Regions from separate parts of the Homo sapiens genome. Here all the other regions are linked to region 1. The links are contacts of gene promoters, found by promoter capture Hi-C in blood cells and fetal thymus (Javierre and others, 2016). All regions are on one chromosome and are shown on one strand. The core of a region is centred on a gene start or on the middle of the fragment in contact, and the rest is flanking DNA. Distances in the headings are between cores, read along the strand shown. Region 1 holds the start of ALG14 (ALG14 UDP-N-acetylglucosaminyltransferase subunit). Region 2 holds the start of TMED5 (transmembrane p24 trafficking protein 5). Region 3 holds the start of DR1 (down-regulator of transcription 1). Region 4 has its middle 6.9 kb from the start of MIR760. Region 5 holds the start of DNTTIP2 (deoxynucleotidyltransferase terminal interacting protein 2). Region 6 overlaps GCLM (glutamate-cysteine ligase modifier subunit).

Evidence for each region. The method cuts DNA at HindIII sites, captures the fragments that hold promoters and counts their contacts. A CHiCAGO score of 5 or more calls a contact.
Region 2: a contact is called between the fragment with the promoter of TMED5 here and the fragment with the promoter of ALG14 in region 1, in 1 of 17 cell types (naive CD8 T cells). The highest score is 8.2, in naive CD8 T cells.
Region 3: the fragment with the promoter of DR1 here is called in contact with the fragment with the promoter of ALG14 in region 1 in 2 of 17 cell types (naive CD4 T cells and total CD4 T cells); the score reaches 7.9 in naive CD4 T cells.
Region 4: a fragment that was not itself captured here is called in contact with the fragment with the promoter of ALG14 in region 1 in 2 of 17 cell types (activated CD4 T cells and non-activated CD4 T cells); the score reaches 7.0 in activated CD4 T cells.
Region 5: a contact is called between the fragment with the promoter of DNTTIP2 here and the fragment with the promoter of ALG14 in region 1, in 8 of 17 cell types (activated CD4 T cells, non-activated CD4 T cells, total CD8 T cells and 5 more). The highest score is 18.0, in activated CD4 T cells.
Region 6: a contact is called between a fragment that was not itself captured here and the fragment with the promoter of ALG14 in region 1, in 1 of 17 cell types (naive CD8 T cells). The highest score is 5.5, in naive CD8 T cells.

The regions. Positions count from the first base shown.
Region 1 is chr1:95,071,323-95,074,455 of GRCh38, reverse strand. It overlaps ALG14 (ALG14 UDP-N-acetylglucosaminyltransferase subunit), which reads left to right and starts at 1,505. Exons shown (of 4, transcript NM_144988.4): 1 at 1,505-1,693. The coding sequence starts at 1,558. RefSeq lists enhancers at 1,384-1,743, 1,984-2,063. The HindIII fragment of the contact is 2,572 bases long and covers 1,167-3,133 here.
Region 2 is chr1:93,178,881-93,182,013 of GRCh38, reverse strand. It overlaps TMED5 (transmembrane p24 trafficking protein 5), which reads left to right and starts at 1,601. Exons shown (of 4, transcript NM_016040.5): 1 at 1,601-1,960. The coding sequence starts at 1,772. It overlaps CCDC18 (coiled-coil domain containing 18), which reads right to left and starts at 1,290. Exons shown (of 29, transcript NM_001378204.1): 1 at 1,162-1,290. RefSeq lists enhancers at 991-1,200, 2,071-2,220 and a silencer at 1,261-1,540. The HindIII fragment of the contact is 9,002 bases long and covers 1-3,133 here.
Region 3 is chr1:93,344,216-93,347,348 of GRCh38, reverse strand. DR1 (down-regulator of transcription 1) reads right to left here and starts at 1,442. Exons shown (of 3, transcript NM_001938.3): 1 at 484-1,442. The coding sequence starts at 703. CCDC18-AS1 (CCDC18 antisense RNA 1) reads left to right here and starts at 1,538. Exons shown (of 9, transcript NR_034089.1): 1 at 1,538-1,625. RefSeq lists enhancers at 603-812, 873-942, 1,312-1,847. The HindIII fragment of the contact is 13,248 bases long and covers 1-1,955 here.
Region 4 is chr1:93,838,401-93,841,533 of GRCh38, reverse strand. It overlaps a transcript of BCAR3 not described here. Among named protein-coding and RNA genes, the nearest start is that of MIR760, 6.9 kb to the left of the region's middle. RefSeq lists a silencer at 1,954-2,154. The HindIII fragment of the contact is 1,011 bases long and covers 1,064-2,074 here.
Region 5 is chr1:93,877,498-93,880,630 of GRCh38, reverse strand. It overlaps DNTTIP2 (deoxynucleotidyltransferase terminal interacting protein 2), which reads left to right and starts at 1,425. Exons shown (of 7, transcript NM_014597.5): 1 at 1,425-1,554; 2 at 2,769-3,133. The coding sequence starts at 1,483. RefSeq lists enhancers at 603-1,418, 1,270-1,699. The HindIII fragment of the contact is 5,310 bases long and covers 1-1,916 here.
Region 6 is chr1:93,894,669-93,897,801 of GRCh38, reverse strand. It overlaps GCLM (glutamate-cysteine ligase modifier subunit), which reads left to right. Exons shown (of 7, transcript NM_002061.4): 5 at 982-1,184; 6 at 3,074-3,133. Among named protein-coding and RNA genes, the nearest start is that of GCLM, 13 kb to the left of the region's middle. The HindIII fragment of the contact is 2,691 bases long and covers 538-3,133 here.

The sequences.
Region 1 (3,133 bases), core at 256-2,755:
CAGGAGAATCGCTTGAACCTGGGAGGTGGGGGTTGCAGTGAGCCAAGATTGTGCCACTGCACTCCAGCCAAGCGACAGAGTGAGACTCTGTCTCAAAAAAAAAAAAAAAGAAAAGAAAAGAAAAGAAAGAAGATTTGATGGAAGACAATTTGGAAAGTGTTGTAAGGTCCACGGACTCTACTCACAAAGTCTCCCAAACTTGCTTGCTGATAGGAATGGACACGCTGGTTACATAAGCTAATCCCAGGTGCCCGATCCCCGGAAATTCTGATTCAGTGTTTCCTAATGGACCCTGGGAGTCTGCACCTTTAATAACACATTCTAGGCTCCAGGTAAGTGTGGTGATCAGGCAAGTTTGAATTTAGCAAAGGAATACAGGATGCAGTACTCCTGTCCAGCAGGACTCAGATTTCTGGTTTCTGATTCTAGATCTGACGCTATTCCACTTGGGCAAGCAGTTGCACCTTTCTGAACCTTTTTACTCATCTGTATACCTGTTCAATATAACCTACAGGTAGGTCTATGGTGGACCGAAGGCAAATTATATTTGGGGTGAAGGGGCTCCTGATCTTAGTATTTTATGTTGTCGTAATGTGGATTAATTAGACATAATTAATTTATTAACAATTAATTAATTAGACATAAGCAAAATTGAGATTGAAGGGGGTGTTGGCAGATCATCATTTTGGCTGAGGACATGAGAAACACACTGGAAATGCTTTGTGATAAAATTAACTGAATATTAATTGTAGGACTGTGCCTTGTCTATCCTGCTACCTAGAGCCACTGAGCTTTGCAATCCTCTTAGGAGTGTGGCTTACCTTTAGGTGGTCACCCTCAACTACTCTGGTCACACTGAGAGCTGTGAAAACCTCGAGAAAAGTTAAAAACATACATGTTGGGAGACAGGGGGTTTGGATGAGGGCCCTAAATTCGATGTTTAAGCCTAGGGTCCTTACTGGCGAACACTTTCAGTAATGTCTGTGTGCAACAGAAACATTTCTCTTGGCATTAAAAAAAAAAAAAGAAAGAAAGAAAGGATGTATTCCCTTAGCTTCAGGTGGCATTCACGAAGTTGACAGAGCCAGAACACCTCCTAACTGGGGAGTTTCGGGACCTTTAGGGCGCAGAGACTGCCTGACCTCGTCGTGGGCGTAAATCAAGCTTCCCCAGCGCTTAACTTTACAATTTTCAGCTTACGCTTGGCTGCAGCTGCGCACAATCCGCGCAGAAGCAGGGGTTCCGCTGACAAACGTGAACGTACAGAACGTAGAAACCTTTTAACGCTAATATGCAGTTTCCCTGTATGGCTGTTGTGCATTATTAATCTAGGTATTGCGTATTTAGTTTAGGAAACACGAATACTACATGATAAATGAGGTAAAATGGATTGTGACTGGGACCTCAGCTTCTCCGTCGCCTCCACTCCTCCCAGCTCAGGAAAGACCAGCCCACCAAGACGTGCGTCCTCCGCGTTTGAGTCGCTTCGGCACCCGTAGTTGTGAACTTTGACAGCGGCTGGTCCCCGGAAGTTGGACGCATGCGCCGTTTCTCTGCATGGTGTGCGTTCTCGTTCTAGCTGCGGCCGCAGGAGCTGTGGCGGTTTTCCTAATCCTGCGAATATGGGTAGTGCTTCGTTCCATGGACGTTACGCCCCGGGAGTCTCTCAGTATCTTGGTAGTGGCTGGGTCCGGTAAGTATCGAGGAGGCGACTGTCGGACTTGGGTTGGTCACTACAAACCCCAGAGTGCACCGCGACGCTCTTCCCTGGTACCCTTAGCACTTCTTGGAGTGTTGCATGCAGAGATTTGTAGTTTCTCTGCCTTGCCGGAACCGGGCAGTCCAGCCAGGGTAGGGGCTGGTTTGCTGACGCGGCCCAGAGGTTTTTTTTATGACAAGTAATTTACACTTGTCTATAATTAAGACTCTCTGTAGCGTATATTTTTCAAACAATTAGTGAACAGAGAACGTAGAAGCCTTTTGATGCAAACATGCAGTTTCCCCGTATGGCTGTTGTGCATTATTAATCTAGGTATTGCGTATTTAGTTTAGGAAACACGAATGCTACATGACAAATGAGGCAAAATGAATTGTCACATTTATAAATATACAAAGTCCAAGAGGATAAAAACAATGATCTACGGGCTGTAGAACAATACACACGCGGTGGCAGAGTGTGAGCAACACACTGACCTGTCAGGTAATACAATCTAAATCCACCAACTCTGTAGGTGCTTACAATTTTAAATACACATATTTGACAGGGACAGACAGACACACACAGACACAATGTAAACATTTGGGTATGGCAGGAGATTGCATCCAGATAGAACATGTATAGTATGAGTAAATGTACTAAGTTTATGTTCAAGTATAACGCATTACTTTATTCACTTAATCTGTTTTGAGCTGTTAGAAAGACCAAACACTAAACTAACCTCTGGAAATAACAAAACTGACTAACATTACTTGCCACGGAGTGCTGACTCCGTGCTAAGTCCTGTGAGAGATGCAAAGATACAGCAGTAAATGAAATAGAGAATACAAAAAAACTAACAGAAAATAAATCAAAATGAGTATTTGCCACAATGAGATAAATGCTATAATCTTGTAATAATTGTGTAAGAAGTACAAATTGCTATGGCAGTCTTCAGGAAGGGCACTACTTTATCAGGTCTTAAAAAACAGACAGCTTCCTGGAAGAAATGATGCTAAACTGAAACTTGAAAGATGACCCAGAATTAGTCAGATGAGGGACAGCCAGGGTTTCGAGGGCTGGGAGGATGTGAAAAGAAGGTGATAACACTTGGAATGACCAGAGTTGAGAGAACACTATCGTGTAGAGTTCAATGTAGGGAGGTAAACTGAGTCCAGATTGTAAAGAGTATTTAAAATCTTGCTTTTTTTCTTTTTTATACAGAGTCTCACGCTGTTGCCCAGGCTGGAGGGCAGTGGCGCAGTCTCAGCTCACTGCAACTCCACCTCCCAAATTCAAGCCATTCTCCTGCCTCAGCCTCCCGAGTAGCTGGGATTACAGGCGCACCACCACACTCAGCTAATTTTTGTATTTTTAGTACAGACAGTGTTTCACCATGTTGACCAAGGCTGGTCTTGAACTTCCGACCTCAAGTGA
Region 2 (3,133 bases), core at 352-2,851, 1.9 Mb after region 1:
ATTGGGCAAATTCTATAATACCATTTGGTACTATATATTTCATCTTAAATCAGGTTTTAGTTCAACATCTGTGTATTGCCATGCAAGAAATAACTCCCAGTCCGGGCGCGGTGGCTCACGCCGGTAATCCCAGCACTTTGGGAGGTCAAGGCGGGTGGATCACGAGGTCAAAAGTTAAAGACCAACCTGGCCAAGATGGTGAAACCCCGTATCTACTAAAAATACAAAAAAATTAGCCGGGGGTGGTGGCGAGCGCCTGTAATCTCAGCTACTCGGGAGGCTGAGGCAGAGAATTGCTTGAACCTGGGAGGCGGAGGTTGCAGTGAGCCGAGATCGCGCCACTGCACTCCAGCCTGGGCGACAGAGTGAGACTCGGTCTCAAAAAAAAAAGAAAGAACTCCCTAACTCTTCTGCAGTAGCAATGAATATATTTGATACTAAAATGTTTTCATTTTCCTAGTGGGACATTTACTGTCAAATGAATGTCCTTAACTTCAATTTACAGTAGTTACCCAAAAAAGGCTATCTTCACTGACTATGCATACCTAGAAAAGCACATCATCCTACTCACCGACCTTAACAACATCATCTTTCGGCCCTAATTAACAATGTGTTTGTAGGTTTGCACACGCACACCCATCAAACGAAGGACAAGTGTTCTTTTATACCCTATGTATGTGATACAATGGGCTGTAGTCGAAAAAGATTCCTCATTTTGGAAAGAAGTCATAACTTTATGTAGTAGTCTCCTGTCTCAAGATCGCTTGACACAGCTAATCTTACATCCGTCTGAAAGAAGCGGGGGCGGGGGTGGGGGACGGAAGTGACAGTTTCCTCTTTTTTTTTTTTTTTTTAATTTTATAGAGACAGTGGCTCGCCATATTGCCAAGGCTGGCCTCGAACTCCTGGGCTCAAGCAATCCTTCCGCCTCGACATCCCAAAGTGCTGAGGTAACAGGCGTAAGCCACTGCGCCCGGCCTCCTATTTTTCATCAAATAAAATACAACCGTTCAGAGCAGCATGCTCAGCAACCACGAGGACCAGTCCCAGCGCATCCAAGGTGCCGGGAGGGAAAGGAACAGAACTCCCCCAGGTAAGCCGGTTTCCCCACGCCAAGGCGCAGTCGCTCACCACCCAAATCGTCGCTGGGGAGAGACCCACCCGGCGACTGCGCGCTTCGCACTCGAGTCTGCGTTAGGAAGCCTCTGACCCTTTCCCGGGCCCCTGCGCGTGGAAGCCTCGGACACAACTCGGAGAACCAGCGAACCCCGGCAGCACAGAATTCGAACCGCCGCGGGAGCCGTTGGGACGCGCCTACCCGGTCACTGCCCCGCCCCGGCGCAGACTGCGTGAGGCGCCGCCGAAGGCGCGGGGCTTGCCGGGGATCGTGGTCGGCGAGCGCGCCCGAGCCCACTAGCGGAGCCCGCCCGGGACTACATTTCCCACAATTACCGCCATGATGCCCATTGGTGGGGGAAGCCATGGGAACCGGAGGCCGTCAGGGGGAGAGGCGGGCGGCGCTCACGCCTGGCCTGAGGGGGCCGAGACTGAGGCGGTTGCGGAATAGGACTGCTAGCCCCGCCCAGAGTCCCTACCCTTTGGAGAACTGCGCTTCTCTTTCGGAGGGAGTGTTCGCCGCCGCCGCGGCCGCCACCTGGAGTTTCTTCAGACTCCAGATTTCCCTGTCAACCACGAGGAGTCCAGAGAGGAAACGCGGAGCGGAGACAACAGTACCTGACGCCTCTTTCAGCCCGGGATCGCCCCAGCAGGGATGGGCGACAAGATCTGGCTGCCCTTCCCCGTGCTCCTTCTGGCCGCTCTGCCTCCGGTGCTGCTGCCTGGGGCGGCCGGCTTCACACCTTCCCTCGATAGCGACTTCACCTTTACCCTTCCCGCCGGCCAGAAGGAGTGCTTCTACCAGCCCATGCCCCTGAAGGCCTCGCTGGAGATCGAGTACCAAGTAAGTGCGGAGGATAAACCAGCCTCCTTCCTTTAACCCAGCTGCACTGCGTTGTCGCCTCTCACCCGTTTAGAAACTTCTGGTGGACGGCCCTGGTGGTGAAGAGGCGAGGGCCGTTCAGGAAGCCAGCCCGCTCCGCGCAGGCGCGCGAGGCGAGGCGAGGCTCTCGCTGGGGCCGGGGACCCAGAACTTAGGCTGGACCTGGAATTGATGACTACCCGCCTTCTCCCCTTTCCTCCGGTGGGAAGGAGGCCAGAACTGGTGATGTCGCTGGCTTTTCTCTTTGTTTCCTAATTCGCCCACTGCTTTTCTTAGCCACTACACGCTCTCATACTGAGAATTTCACAATGCAGAACTGATACACGTTCTCCTTCATCATTGGACAAGGTGATGACACTTGTTTGAATCACCCCCACCCCTTTCACACAGTTCAGATGTTACAAATCACTGTCTTTGCTTCAGTTAAGGGTTTTTGGATTATGATCGTGTAATTGGCATTAAGCCCGATTTTGAAATTTTTTGGAAGACGCTGTTGCTATATTTAATGATACATTTCCGTTTAAGTTATATATCCATTATTTTCAAAAGATCAAATCGTATATTAAAACTTTATAACCTTTCTTTTCATTTTTTCATTGAGCATTGTAAGCATTTCCCTCGTGTCATTGTTTTTTTTTTTTTTTTTTGAGACGGAGTCTCGCTTTGTTGCTCAAGCTAGAGTTGGAGTGCAGTGGCGCTATCTCGGCTCATTGCAACCTCCGCCTCCCGGGTTCAAGCGATTCTCCTGCCTCAGCCTTCCGAGTAGCTGAGATTACAGACGTGCGCCACCATGCCCAGCTAATTTTTGTATTTTTAGTAGAGACGGGGTTTCACCATGTTGGCCAGGCTGGTCTCGAACTCCCGACCTCAGGCGATCCACCCGCCTCGGCCTCCCAAAGTGCTGGGATTACAGGCGTGAGCCACCATGCCTAGCATGTTTTCTTTTTAGTATCTGCATAATATTCTTGCTGGGAATTACCTTATTTTATGTAGTCATGGTGGTAGGGGGTAATTTCTTAGAAGAAATCTTGTTCGTTCCACAGCAAATTCCGATGTTTTCAGGTAGCAGTACAGGGGGGAAAGAAAAGGCATTGATGTGTTTCATCTTTCAGTTTTTTAGAAGTTAATTATAAT
Region 3 (3,133 bases), core at 193-2,692, 1.7 Mb after region 1:
TATGTTAAGAATTTTTTAACTCATGTGTTCAGAAAATAAATCTTTTCCTCTACATTGGTGAAAGGTCAGGTGGGGAAGGGGGTGCTCTGTCTCCACCCACGTTGAAGTTCCTCCGTCTGAATTTTAACTTTCCAAAGGAGAATTTCTGCGTTCCTTAATTATTATCTAAGTTCAACTTCAGGCAAGTAATTCTTGTTGCTTCGGCTTACCTGGCTGTAAAGTGAGATCACTCTTATTCTTTACGTTTTGGGGACGCTGACCTAAATGTTTGCACTCCTTACATGTATTCGCTGGATGAAAAGTACTGCAAAAATGCTACAAAGGGATTGTTTTTAAAGCACCGGCTGCCTACATGCCAGTCTGGCTTTTTCATTAAGTTACTTACCAGGGAAGAGGAATGGAGGCTTTGACACGAAAGGGTCACGCGATTAGCAGACTGCTACCCTAGAACCTCATTCAAACCAGCTCTCACACACGACTTACCTTGTATGACATGCTCTGGTGAGATGGTCTTCTTTTCCGATTTGTTACAAATCTCATTGGCTTCAGAAGATATAAGGTGAATGAATTCAGTGCAGCAGTTCACCACCAGCTCTCGAGCATCGTTGGCCACCCGGACATTAGGAAGAGTCTCTTTGATCATTTTATTGATAGCAGCTCTGGGGATAGTGAGATCATCATCGTTGCCAGACGAGGAAGCCATAGTACCTTCCTGTTTCTCGCGCCCCGGCTTTTAAAAACTCCCCAGCTCTGGTCCACTACTCCACCGAGATTTCTCAAAAAGTCGCCCTCGGAGAGTGATCCCGGGGGGTGCTTTGCGAAGAGGGTGCAGAAAATGAACGGAGGAGCAGCTGGCTTGAGGGCTGGGAACACTCGCGTGTGTGAGAGATTTAGGATGAGTTTGGGAAGAAAGTGGGGGCCCGAGGATTCTAGAGAGAGCACAGCCCAGGCTGAGGAGGGGAAAGCGCGGTGGTCCGGAAATTTGAGCGGCTGGGGAACCACCTTCGTGTCTCCTCAGAGGGGCGGGCGCTGTCGCCTAACTGGTCCCCAACGGCGTCGGAGCAGAGGCAAGATCCAGGGGCACTGGCCTCGCCGCGGTACCGGGCGGGTACCCAGCGGGCTCGGCTCTATAGAGCCCGAGGCCCCGCTGCCGCTGCCGCCGCCGCCAGCAGCCGTTGCCGCCGCCTCGGCCAAACCATCCTTCAGACACCCGCGCCGCCGCCTCACAACATGTCCGCCGCTGCCGCTGCCGCTGCCGCTGCTGGAACGGCGACGGCCGCCTGGGAACTAATATGGACAGAGCCAGGCACAGTGGGAGTCGCAGTGGCTGCCGCCGTGGCCGCGTAGCCCGAACGCAGATCGTGGAAGCCGAAGACGCGGCAACGGTGGTCCCTCCAGATGCCAGGGAAGGTTTGCAGGAAGCCGCTCCCGACACCCTTTGCGCCACCGGAAGCCTCGTTCCCTCAGATTTCCCCCTCCCTCCCGGACCGACTTCCGGGTGTGGCTGCCGCCCTTCCCCCACCCACGCCGGCGGGAGCCGCCCGTTCGCGCTGCCAGCAGCTTCCGCCTGCTACGGTCCTGGCAAGCACCTCGGGATCCCATTCCTTCACAGGGACCCTAGCCAGGCAAGCGCGCGCCTCACTGTACCGGAGAGCTCCAAGCACGCGCTTGGTCTGGGGCCCGGACGCTACATCTGGGAAGGGGTGGGTGGCTGGGTAGATAGGCGAGGAAGGATCGTCTCTACCCTCTCTCAAGTAGCTGAGGCCTCCGAAACCTTCCCTAGCTGGATTTGGGGACAGAGGAGCGCTGGTATTGATAAAATAACTCTCTTTGCTATTCCTTTAGGAGCCCAAATGAGGATTGAAAGTGAGAAGAATGGGACCTGGGCTTGGGGGTGGGAGGTGGGGAAAGCAGAACCCCGTGTGCCTGTTTCTGCGTCGTCTGGAGAAAAAGCTTTTCAAGATGTCTGATAGACCTTATTCGGTTCAAAGCTCTCTAAAGTCCTTCACCTTTTTTTTTTTAAACTTCATGAAAAATGAAACATTTCAGAGAAGTTACTTGCCTAGAGGCAACTAAGTCGCCTAATGGCTAAGTAGGAAAGCAGAAGTCAGTTCCAACATAGTGGAAATGGAGTGGAAATGCATGGCATACAATGAGCTATATTAGAAGGTTCCCATTTAGACAGTTTTCATGTTGTATTCCATGTTGGCTTCTACAGGGGAAAAAAGTGTTAGAGCATCTTAAGCAACTGTTTTTACTTCTTTCCATAGTGACTAGTAATATCAACAGGTGTCAAGGTCTAAACAGAAATTGCATTTAAAAAAAAAAAAAGTGTGTCAGCCAGGCGTTGTGGCTCATCATACCTGTAAACCCAACACTTTGGGAGGCTGAGGCAGGGGGATCACATGAGCCCAGGAGTTCAAGACCCGCCTGGGCAACATAGTGAGACCCGTCCCTACAAAAAAAAAAAATATATATATATATATATATAATATATATTTATATATATAAATATATATTCCAACATCCCACTGTTTATAGTATAGCCTCTTCTATATGACAATATGAAACACGGGTTTTTTTTTCACCAGGCTTGGTGGCAGGCACCCGTAGTCCCGGCTACTCTGGAGGGCGAGGTGGGAGGATCGATTGAGCCAGGGGGTCAAGGCTGCAGTGAGTTGCGGTTGTGCCACTGCACTTCCAGCCTGGGTGACAGAACAAGATTCTTTGTCTCAAAAAAGATAAAAAAAAAAAAAAAGTAAAAAAACTGAGTCTGTCATACTGTCATGTGGAAGAAGAGGCTATACTATAAATAGTGGGATGTTGGAATTTCTAAAAACTAAACAAGACACTGTTGAAATCCATTTTGTCACTTTGGTTCATCAGATTCATTACTCTTGATACATATGATGGCAACTGGCTTGTTGACAGTGTTTTCTTAAAACGTTCTGTCTGAGCCCTATATGCTGCTCTCAAGAAGACATTACAGTTTATTATGCTATTTTTTCATTTAGCATTTTCTGCAGGACAACTTACTGGTTCTTTAATTTCTGAAGTGTAGACACTTGTTTTTCAGTGCTACTAAATTTAGTCAAAACAAAATTTCTTTGATTAAAAACAGTATTTTAATTAA
Region 4 (3,133 bases), core at 320-2,819, 1.2 Mb after region 1:
CTTCCAAGCCTAGTAGGGCTCAGGAAGGATGTAGGAGTATCTTGTAAGTGGCAGTTACCTGTCTCTGCTGTTGAGATGGCTAAACAAAGGCTGAGCCTTACTTGGGTCTTCAAGGCTGGTCAGGCTTGTCCCTGCACAAACAAAAGACCACATTCATTCATTTAAGCATTGAGACTAGCCAGGCTCTCCACAAGTCTCTTGGGACCCTTTGGTGAAGAAGACAAATGCTGTCCTTGCTGCCATGGACCTTGCAATCTTGAGCAAAGTCAGACAGCAGAGCATGAATGAGTATAGGAAATGGGCTTGACTTAAGAGATACAGCTGAGAAAGTCAGTGGGGCAAAGATCCGGAAGCGCTTCAAATGCAAGGCTAAGGAGCCTGGGGTTGAGCAGCCCCATGTCACCTCCTCCGAGAATTTTCCCAGACATTCTTCTGCAGCCTAGTCTGCTGGTGGTGGGGAGGGACTCCTGGATTCCCAAGGTACTTTCAAAGCTCTATAATTTTCTGTGTGGTTTTCTATCTCTTCTCCCAGACAATAAGCATCTTGGGGGAGTGGGAGGAAAGTGGGGGGAGCACGTCTTCTTTTCCTTTATCTTTGTAACCTCAGTCCCTAGCATTGTGGCTAGCTCACAACAAGTAGCTTTGAATATTGATTGAACAAATGAATGAGTCCTGTAGGCAATAAGGAAGCTACTTGACTATGTGCCTAGCTTATCTTCTGCATTAGACCAGAAGCTCTTGAAAGCTAAACATCCGTGCTTTCTAACTGTTTTGTAATTCTCCCCAAGGCTTGGCAGAATATCATGTACACAGTGGACACTCCATAAATGATGCCTGAATGCGTTTGTGGAAGTAGAAGTGGATCTTCAGTGTCCTAATTCCTGCTTTCAGTGACCCAGTTTGGGGGAGTAGGTCTTAAATTTCTTCCCCTCAGAATGACATCTCTGCCTTTTAAGTTCTCAACAAACTAGTAGGATGACTTCTTCTGGTAAGCATATTTGGAAGGAAAGGCATTCTGAGCCCCACTCGTGGGCCTCACAACAAATAACCATCTATTAAAGCTTAGTGAATCTTAATTGTTTAGCAGTTGAAAATAATAATGAAGTAATAACGCATCACACCAGGCACTTTTCTGGGTTCTTCATGTATATCAGACCTCACTTAATCTTCATAACAACCCTCTAAGGTAGGCAGGATCATTGCCCCATTCCCAGATGGGAAGGCAAACCACAGGGAAAGCAGCAGGATTGAATCCAGGCACCTGTCCCCAAGTTCACATATACCCTGGACTACAGCAGTTTCTCCTAGAAAAGAAATCAGGAGAGAATCAGCAAGCAACTGGGAGCAGACTTGTTAGACTAGCGGTCTTCAAACTCTACCACGCTCTAGAATCTTGATGCCCAGGATGCACCCTGAGGCCAGTTAAATCACAATTTCTGGGGATGGGACCCTGGCATCAGCATTTTTTTTAAACTCCCTAGGTGATTCTCATATGTAGCCAAATTTGAAAATAATGCCCTCTGCCCTTCCTGCAAAAATGCTGACCATGAACCAGGAGTATCAGCATGACCTGGGAGCAGATTAGAAATGCAGGCTCTCGGCCCCACCCTAGGCCTGCTGAATCAAATCTGTATTTTACTAAGATCCCCTCAGTGACTCATTTGCACTAAAGTTTAAAATGCACTGGTTTAGGGCTTAGGTATTCAAGCTCTCATTATTCCACTTGGGCTTCTGTTATTAGCATGAATTTAAATCCTTAATAAGCAAATCTCAAAACTCCATCAAAAAGCTCAGAATCAATCTGATATATTGGCCCAAAAAAATTACTTCAGAGGAAACTATGACCTTTTACTTCTCATTTTGTGAGGGAACTGAGGAAGAAAAGTTATATTGCTAATGGTGTCTAACAGAATGTAGATTCAGTCCAATCTAAAAGAGGCAGATGAATAACTCCTGGCTGCCTTCCTTCTTCTGAGTCAGAAGGATCAGGCCCACGACCTCAGTTAGGCAATGACCATACTTGAGTACCAAGCTGATTGATAAAGAAAATCCTCCAGCCAGAGGTATCTAAGCTTTCACAACTTCTGCTGTTTCCCCATGGTATGTTCCTGTTATAGACCCATAGATGAGATCAGCAATCCTTGTCCCAATTGAGATCTTGTTGTTTGTCATTCAGCTTTCTGAATCTAACTAGATACATTGCCCACTTTTTAGTTTAGTTTAGTTTTTTTCTTTTTATTTTCTTTTAGACTGAGTTTCACTCTTTTTGCCCAGGCTGGAGTGCAGTGCCACAATCTCGGCTCACTGCAACCTCCACGATTCAAGCGATTCTCCCACCTCAGCCTCCTGAGCAGCTGGGATTACAGGCACATGCCACCACGCCCAGCTAATTTTATATTTTTAGTAGAGATGGGGTTTCACCAGGCTGGTCTCAAACTCCTGAGCTCAGGTGATCCACCTGCCTCGGCCTCCCAAAGTGCTGGGATTACAGGCGTGAGCCACCACGCCTGGCACTTTTTAGTTTTTATTTGCCATTGCTTTGTTTATTTATAACTAAATAACTGAAATTTGGAACTAGACTCAGAATGTGTCCCAGTTCATCTGAAGGACATGGAGGTCCACTGGGATGCTCCTTATTTCACTATTTCACTATTTTTTGGTCTTTGCCCACTTTTTCCTTGAAATGATCCATTCTGTGCATTTTATTATATCTCAAGACATCAGGTAGATAGTCACAACCAGTAGCAAATACACCGGCTGAAATTGCCCTCCTTGCTTGGAATGTCTGCCCTTGAATGCAAATTATTTACTTCTGGATCCCTGACAGTGTAATTGTATAATAACTGCGTTTGTAGAATGGTAAGGTTAGCATCCCGTTTTTCTCAGATCTTCAGTAGCAGACTATAAATGACTAGAAAGGGGAGGGCTACTTAGTATCAAGTTTTTCAACACTAGTAATGGAGAGGTGCTATGGTTTGCATAGAGTTAGTTTGTCCCCACCAAAATGCATGTTGATATTTGATCCCCAGTGTGGCAGTGTTGGAGGTCAGACCTAGTGGGGGGTATTTGGGTAATGAGGGTGGATCCTTTATGAATGGCTTCGTGCTACTCTCATAGTAGTACATGTGTTCTC
Region 5 (3,133 bases), core at 176-2,675, 1.2 Mb after region 1:
TGATTTTTCCATCTCACTGCTATGCCATCTCTAAAGCATGCCTTCATCCTTATGGCACAAACTTGCCGCCTGAAAACCAGCGAACCCAACTTTCCAGGAAGTAAAATGCACTTTAAAAGATCAGGAGGGCTGGGCGAGGTCGTTTAGGCCTATAATCCCAGCACTGTAATCCCAGCACTTTGAGAGGCCGAGGCGGGTGAATCACCTGAAGGCAGGAGTTCAAGACCAGCCTGCCCAACATGGTGAAACCCCGTCTCTACTAAAAATACAAAAAAAAAATTAGCCAGGAATGGTGGCGGGCGCCTGTAATCTCAGCTACTCAGGAGGCTGAAGCAGGAGAATCGCTTGAACCCGGGAGGCGGAGGTTGCAGTGACCCAAGATTGCGCCATTGCACTCCACCCTGGGCGACAGAGCAAGACTCCGTCTCCAAAAAAAAAAGTCAGGGACGGCCTCCTCTCTTTTAGATGCCGTCCCTAAAGACATGCACACAATTTATACCTAATTGGCTAAAACGTAGTCACATAGCCACATTTGGCTGCAAGAGAGACTATAAAATAAGCTATTTTAAGCTGGGAAGCAGTGTGTCCATCGACACAGTGTTCTGTGACTTTAAATAAAAAATTGGTTTTCTGTCATGAAGTAGAGACTAGGTTTGGTGAGGCACTCATTCATCCTTTCTCACCTCCAACAATAATTTGCGTTTACTTATTTTTTCAACCCCTTCCCATCCCCTCAAACATAGTTCTCTACCTTTTATCTCAAAAGATAACCAAAGAAACCTCTTGATTCTGGTCATACTCTTCCTTTCACTGTGACAATAACAACAACAACAACAACAACAAAACCTTATTCTTCTCCTTTACAATTTCTTTAACGTTTTTTTCTTTTCTGCTATTCCCAATCCCTAAACACCATCTCACGTTTAGATTATACAGCTTTCCACTTCGTCTCCCAGTTCCTGCGAGCACCTTATATCCCTTTTACCCCAACCAAGTCCTTAAATTTTATTTATAGTTAGCGTCACAATACACGAGTAAATATTGTCTTTCTTTAAAAAGCACAAATATCTCAAACTTCTCCCTTGGACATACCAATGGCTACATTAAGCTCTTTAGAACGTAGAAATGAAAGAACGCCTCCCGGGTTCAAACGATTCTACTAAACAAATGAAAGAACGAATGGCATGTAAGTGCGTTTTTACAATTCATGTGAACGGGTACGCTAAGACCCTCTGTCACTGCGGGCTTCGCCGCCCCGATGAAGGTCTTTCCCAGCAAAAATCTGGCTTGCCTTCTACAGCTCTGAAATGCACACTTAAACCCAGGCCCTTTGTCTCTGACCGCCCTGGCCTGAACTGGCTGGGCGGAGATTCTCGCGAATTCTCGGATCTGCGCGGAAAACGCGCTCGAGGCAGTTCTCTGACGCATTTCCGGAGCGCCAGGGAAGAGGGAAGTCGTGGTGGTCGCGAGGGAGCCGGAAAGATGGTGGTTACCAGATCTGCACGGGCTAAGGCCAGCATCCAAGCCGCGTCGGCTGAAAGTTCCGGGCAAAAGGTAGGAAATCCAGTCTTCCCTACTTCTCGCCGCTTCGCAGAGCCGCGCTCAGGCAGGCGGGGCGGCGCAAGGGTCCGGTTAAGGGTGAGGACCTGCCGACAGAGAGGACCCGAGCTTGCCGCGCGCTTGGGTCTCCCAGGCCCCGTGCTAAGCCTGTCACGGAAACTGTTTAGCCTTCACCACTGTCTCTTAAGGCAATTTTTAGTATGGAAGAGAGGTTAGATAACTTTATTTGGGTCGTTCAACTCCTTAATGCAGAAGCACAGTTCGAACTTTTAAACCTTACTGTTAACACGGTACCAAGGAGGGTTAATTTCGGCCACCATGCACAAGCCCCATTTAGGGGGGCTGGAAAAAAAGCTTCGTTTTCACGTGGGGAGGCTGGCAGCTGTCCAGCATCACCTCCTTAAGGCGTGAGGAGGGCTGTGGTGTCGTCGCCTGGTGACTCTTAGTGGCGTTAGTCGGCTGTCTCATTCTGACTCAGCGATGCAGGGAACGGAGCGGCGGCGATTTTTTCCTGTACGTAAAGGTAAGGGCGGCGACTGATTCCATCAGTGTGTTCCTAAACACATCGGTGTTCAGAGTTAATATTCCCTTTCTCCCCTCTTCTATAGGTGGGTCAGAATGTTGGTCTACCCATTATATTTGACTTTAAACAGAAAAATTTTAATCGTTCTGCTTCTGAAGTTACATCTAGGAAGGATGAGGCTAGTGAAGTAAATGCAGGGTTGGCTCCAGTGTTTAAATTTTGATTTTTTTGTTTGTTTGTTTTTGATTCGGAGTCTTGCTCTGTCGCCCAGGCTAGAGTGCAGTGGCGCAGCCTCGGCTCACTGCAACTTCTGCCTCCCGGATTCCAACAATTCTTCTGCCTCAGGCTCCTGAGTAGTTGGGATTACAGGTGCGCACCAACACGCCCCGCTAATTTTTTTACTTTGAGTAGAGATGGGGTTTCACTATGTTGGCCAAGCTGTCTCGAACTCCTGACCTCGTGATCCACCTGCCTCGGCCTCCCAGAGTGCTGGGATTACAGCCGTAAGCCACCGCGCCCGGCCAAATTTTGATTTTTTAAAAATCATGAGTTGGGCAGGTTTTTTTGTTTTTTGTTTTAAAGGTAATCTTGTTTACTGGGTTTTAGCTTTTGGGGTCAGTATTTCATTTGCTTTGCCCTTGTTCCAGCCCTACCTAAATTACAGTGTGTTTTCTCTGGTTTGCAGAGTTTTGCTGCTAATGGGATTCAAGCGCATCCAGAAAGTAGTACTGGATCTGATGCCCGAACTACTGCTGAATCACAGACCACTGGGAAGCAAAGTTTAATCCCTAGAACTCCTAAAGCTAGAAAGAGGAAGAGCAGAACTACAGGCTCACTACCAAAGGGGACTGAACCATCTACGGATGGAGAAACCTCTGAGGCAGAGTCAAATTATTCTGTGTCTGAGCACCATGATACCATTTTAAGGGTAACTAGGAGAAGGCAGATCTTAATTGCATGCTCCCCAGTGTCCAGTGTTAGGAAAAAGCCGAAAGTAACTCCAACAAAGGAGTCTTACACTGAAGAAATAGTGTCTGAAGCAGAATCTCA
Region 6 (3,133 bases), core at 634-3,133, 1.2 Mb after region 1:
TTTAAATTAGTATAGGTGTATTAGTTATAACTTGTGCTTAGGTCCAGGTAAAAAGAAAATGAGTTGATTCCAATTTTACCTTTTAAAGTTCTAGCTTAGTTTCTTAAGGCTTCTGTAAAATCATACTGACTTATGTAGGGTCATATTTTGATATGCAAGAGGAATGTAAAAGGTGTAATGTACTTAAATGTTCACTATCCGTTTGGAGATAGAAGTTCTTATTCTTAGCCCTTTTAGTACTAGAGGTGAAATATCAAAACCAAACAACGGCAAAAAAAAAAAAATCCAAAAAAAATCCAAGTATATCTGTTTTTAGCACTTAGGTTATTGTGATATTAAAGTTATTCAATACTTAAATAAAAAATTATTCCAGTATTTACATATATTGAAAACTTAAATAATTGGCTCTTTAATGTAACTTTAGAATGAATAATCATTTAAAATAAGCTCTTAAATTATTTTTATAGAATTAAGAAATTATCTACCTCTATAAATATGGATTAAGACCAAACATTCAGTTTTTCAGTGTCTCAAGCTTATTCTTTGCTGTGACTACTAGTTACAGAATATTAGGTCATAATTCTTGTGATCATCCATATGCGATAGTAGTGAGCAAGTAGAACTGGAGAAGAAAATTTTATGAAGATAAGGGAGCTACTAAAAACTTCTGGGACCTAGGAAACAAGAAGAAATTTTGTTCCCTAGAAAGAGGAGCATGTAGTAGTAGCTGCAAGCTGCCTAGGAATAAGGCAGGTCAGAGAAACCCACTTGTCTGCCACACAGAGCAAGTAGGTAAATGGGCACTTACACATTTTTGAAAGATAGAAATGTTCTAAATGAAAAGTAAACTATGAAATAATCTGTTATTTTGAAAACAAGTGAAGAATATGGACAGAATTCAGTGGGATACTTTGAAAACATTAGAAATATTTGTTTTTATGATGTAAGCATTTATTTTCTTTGTGTCTTCCTTCCTATCAGCCTGTTCAGTCCTTGGAGTTGCACAGCTGGATTCTGTGATCATTGCTTCACCTCCTATTGAAGATGGAGTTAATCTTTCCTTGGAGCATTTACAGCCTTACTGGGAGGAATTAGAAAACTTAGTTCAGAGCAAAAAGATTGTTGCCATAGGTACCTCTGATCTAGACAAAACACAGTTGGAACAGCTGTATCAGTGGGCACAGGTGAGGGATGGCAGGATCATGAGCACTCCAGGAAGAACTTGCCCTTTTCAGTCTTTGCTGCACACTGTTGAGCATCATGCACATAGTGGCCACCCCTGCGGGGTGACTTTTCCACATGTGGGAGTTTTGTTTTGTTTCTGCAGGAGTTTTGAGGCAGGTTTTATCTAAATCATTTGAGGTTTTTGTTTGTTTTTATTTAAATATATCTCTGATTGAACTGAATGTTAATCCTGGTTAAAATGAGTGACAAAAATACTAGAAGATGTGTGTTAAAACATTTATACCAAATGAATTAAGGCCATTTCCTTCAGTTCTACTTATGTGCTGAAAACAATAATACCTAAAGAAAAACCTTACGGCCGGGTGTGGTGGCTCACATCTGTAATCCCAGCACTTTGGGAGGCCGAGGCGAGCAGATCATGAGGTCAGGAGTTCGAGACCAGCCTGACCAACATGGTGAAACCCTGTCTCTACTAAAAATAAAAAAATTAGCCAGGCATGGTGGCGTGCACCTGTAATCCCAGCTACTCAGGAGGGTGAGGCAGGAGAATCACTTGAACCTCAGAGGCGGAGGTTGCAGTGAGCTGAGATTGCGCCACTGTACTCCAGCCTGGGTGACAGAGCAAGACTCTGTCTCAAAAAAAAAAAAAAAAAGAAAGAAAAACCTTCTTTTTCTTTAGGTACTATTAGACCATGGCTCTAATTTCCTAAGTAAGGGAATATTTTATATATAACAGATATTTTGCTGTTATTCAAAGATGTGTAAGACTGTCAGTTCATACAACTTGATATGGAGTGAGTGTCATAAATTAATTATTCCCACTCTCTGGTCTAATAACCTACAAAATTATTAGGAAAGTCACTTACTAGCGTTTTACCTTTACTCTCAGTATTTCTTTATTCCTTTTACTTCTTCTTCAGCCTTCTCCTTTTCAGAGCTTTCAGAGTTTCTTATGGACAGGAAGACCTAGAGAAAGTATTTCCCCTTCTCCTTGATGATAGCCAGAATGAGGACAAGAAAGTATTGGAGAGACTTAGATGATTCAGAATGTAAATTAACCAGTGTAGCTACTGGAAGCTGTCAATTCTTCTCTTTCAAAATGTGTCTGATTCATAGCCATATTTTATACTTTAACATTAAAGGTATTTACTTGTATTTGATCCTTTACCTTTAAGAACTATTTGCTCTGTAGCTGAAACCATCACACTTAACAAACTAACAAAAATCATGTTTGTGTTCTAGGCAGATGTATTAGATTGTTAAATGGTTCTAGCAGGAGACTTTTTAATAGTGTAGTACCAGGCTGGGCATGGTGGCTCATGCCTGTAAGCCCAGCACTTTGGGAGGCCGAGGTGGGTAGATCACCTGAGGTCAGGAGTTCAAGACCAGCCTGACCAACATGGTGAAACCGCGTCTCTACTAAAAATACAAAAAATTAGCTGGGCATGGTGGCAGGCACCTGTAATCCCAGCTACTTGGGAGGCTGAGGCAGGAGAATTGCTTGCACCTGGTATGTGGAGGTTGCAGTGAGCCAAGATCACGCCACTGTACTCCAGCCTGGGCGACAGAGCAAGACTCCATCTCAAAAAAAAAAAAAAAAAAAAGTGTAGTACTGTTGGCTTTTTCGTTCCCCTAGTGTTACACTTCCTTTCCCTATTACATAGGGAAAAGGTAATAGGGAATTCCTATTCCCTATTACTACTAACCTGGGTTAGAAAAGCATATATTAATAAAGATATTAATGTAAAAGTATTTTGTAAACTTTAATCACTGTGGATTGTGATTTTTCATATGTTCTAAAATTAAGTTATTTTATTGCTTATTGCTTTCTACTTTTGGTATTATATTTAATTTAGTAGTGATATCATGATTTTATTTTCACTTCTAGGTAAAACCAAATAGTAACCAAGTTAATCTTGCCTCCTGCTGTGTGATGCCACCAGATTTG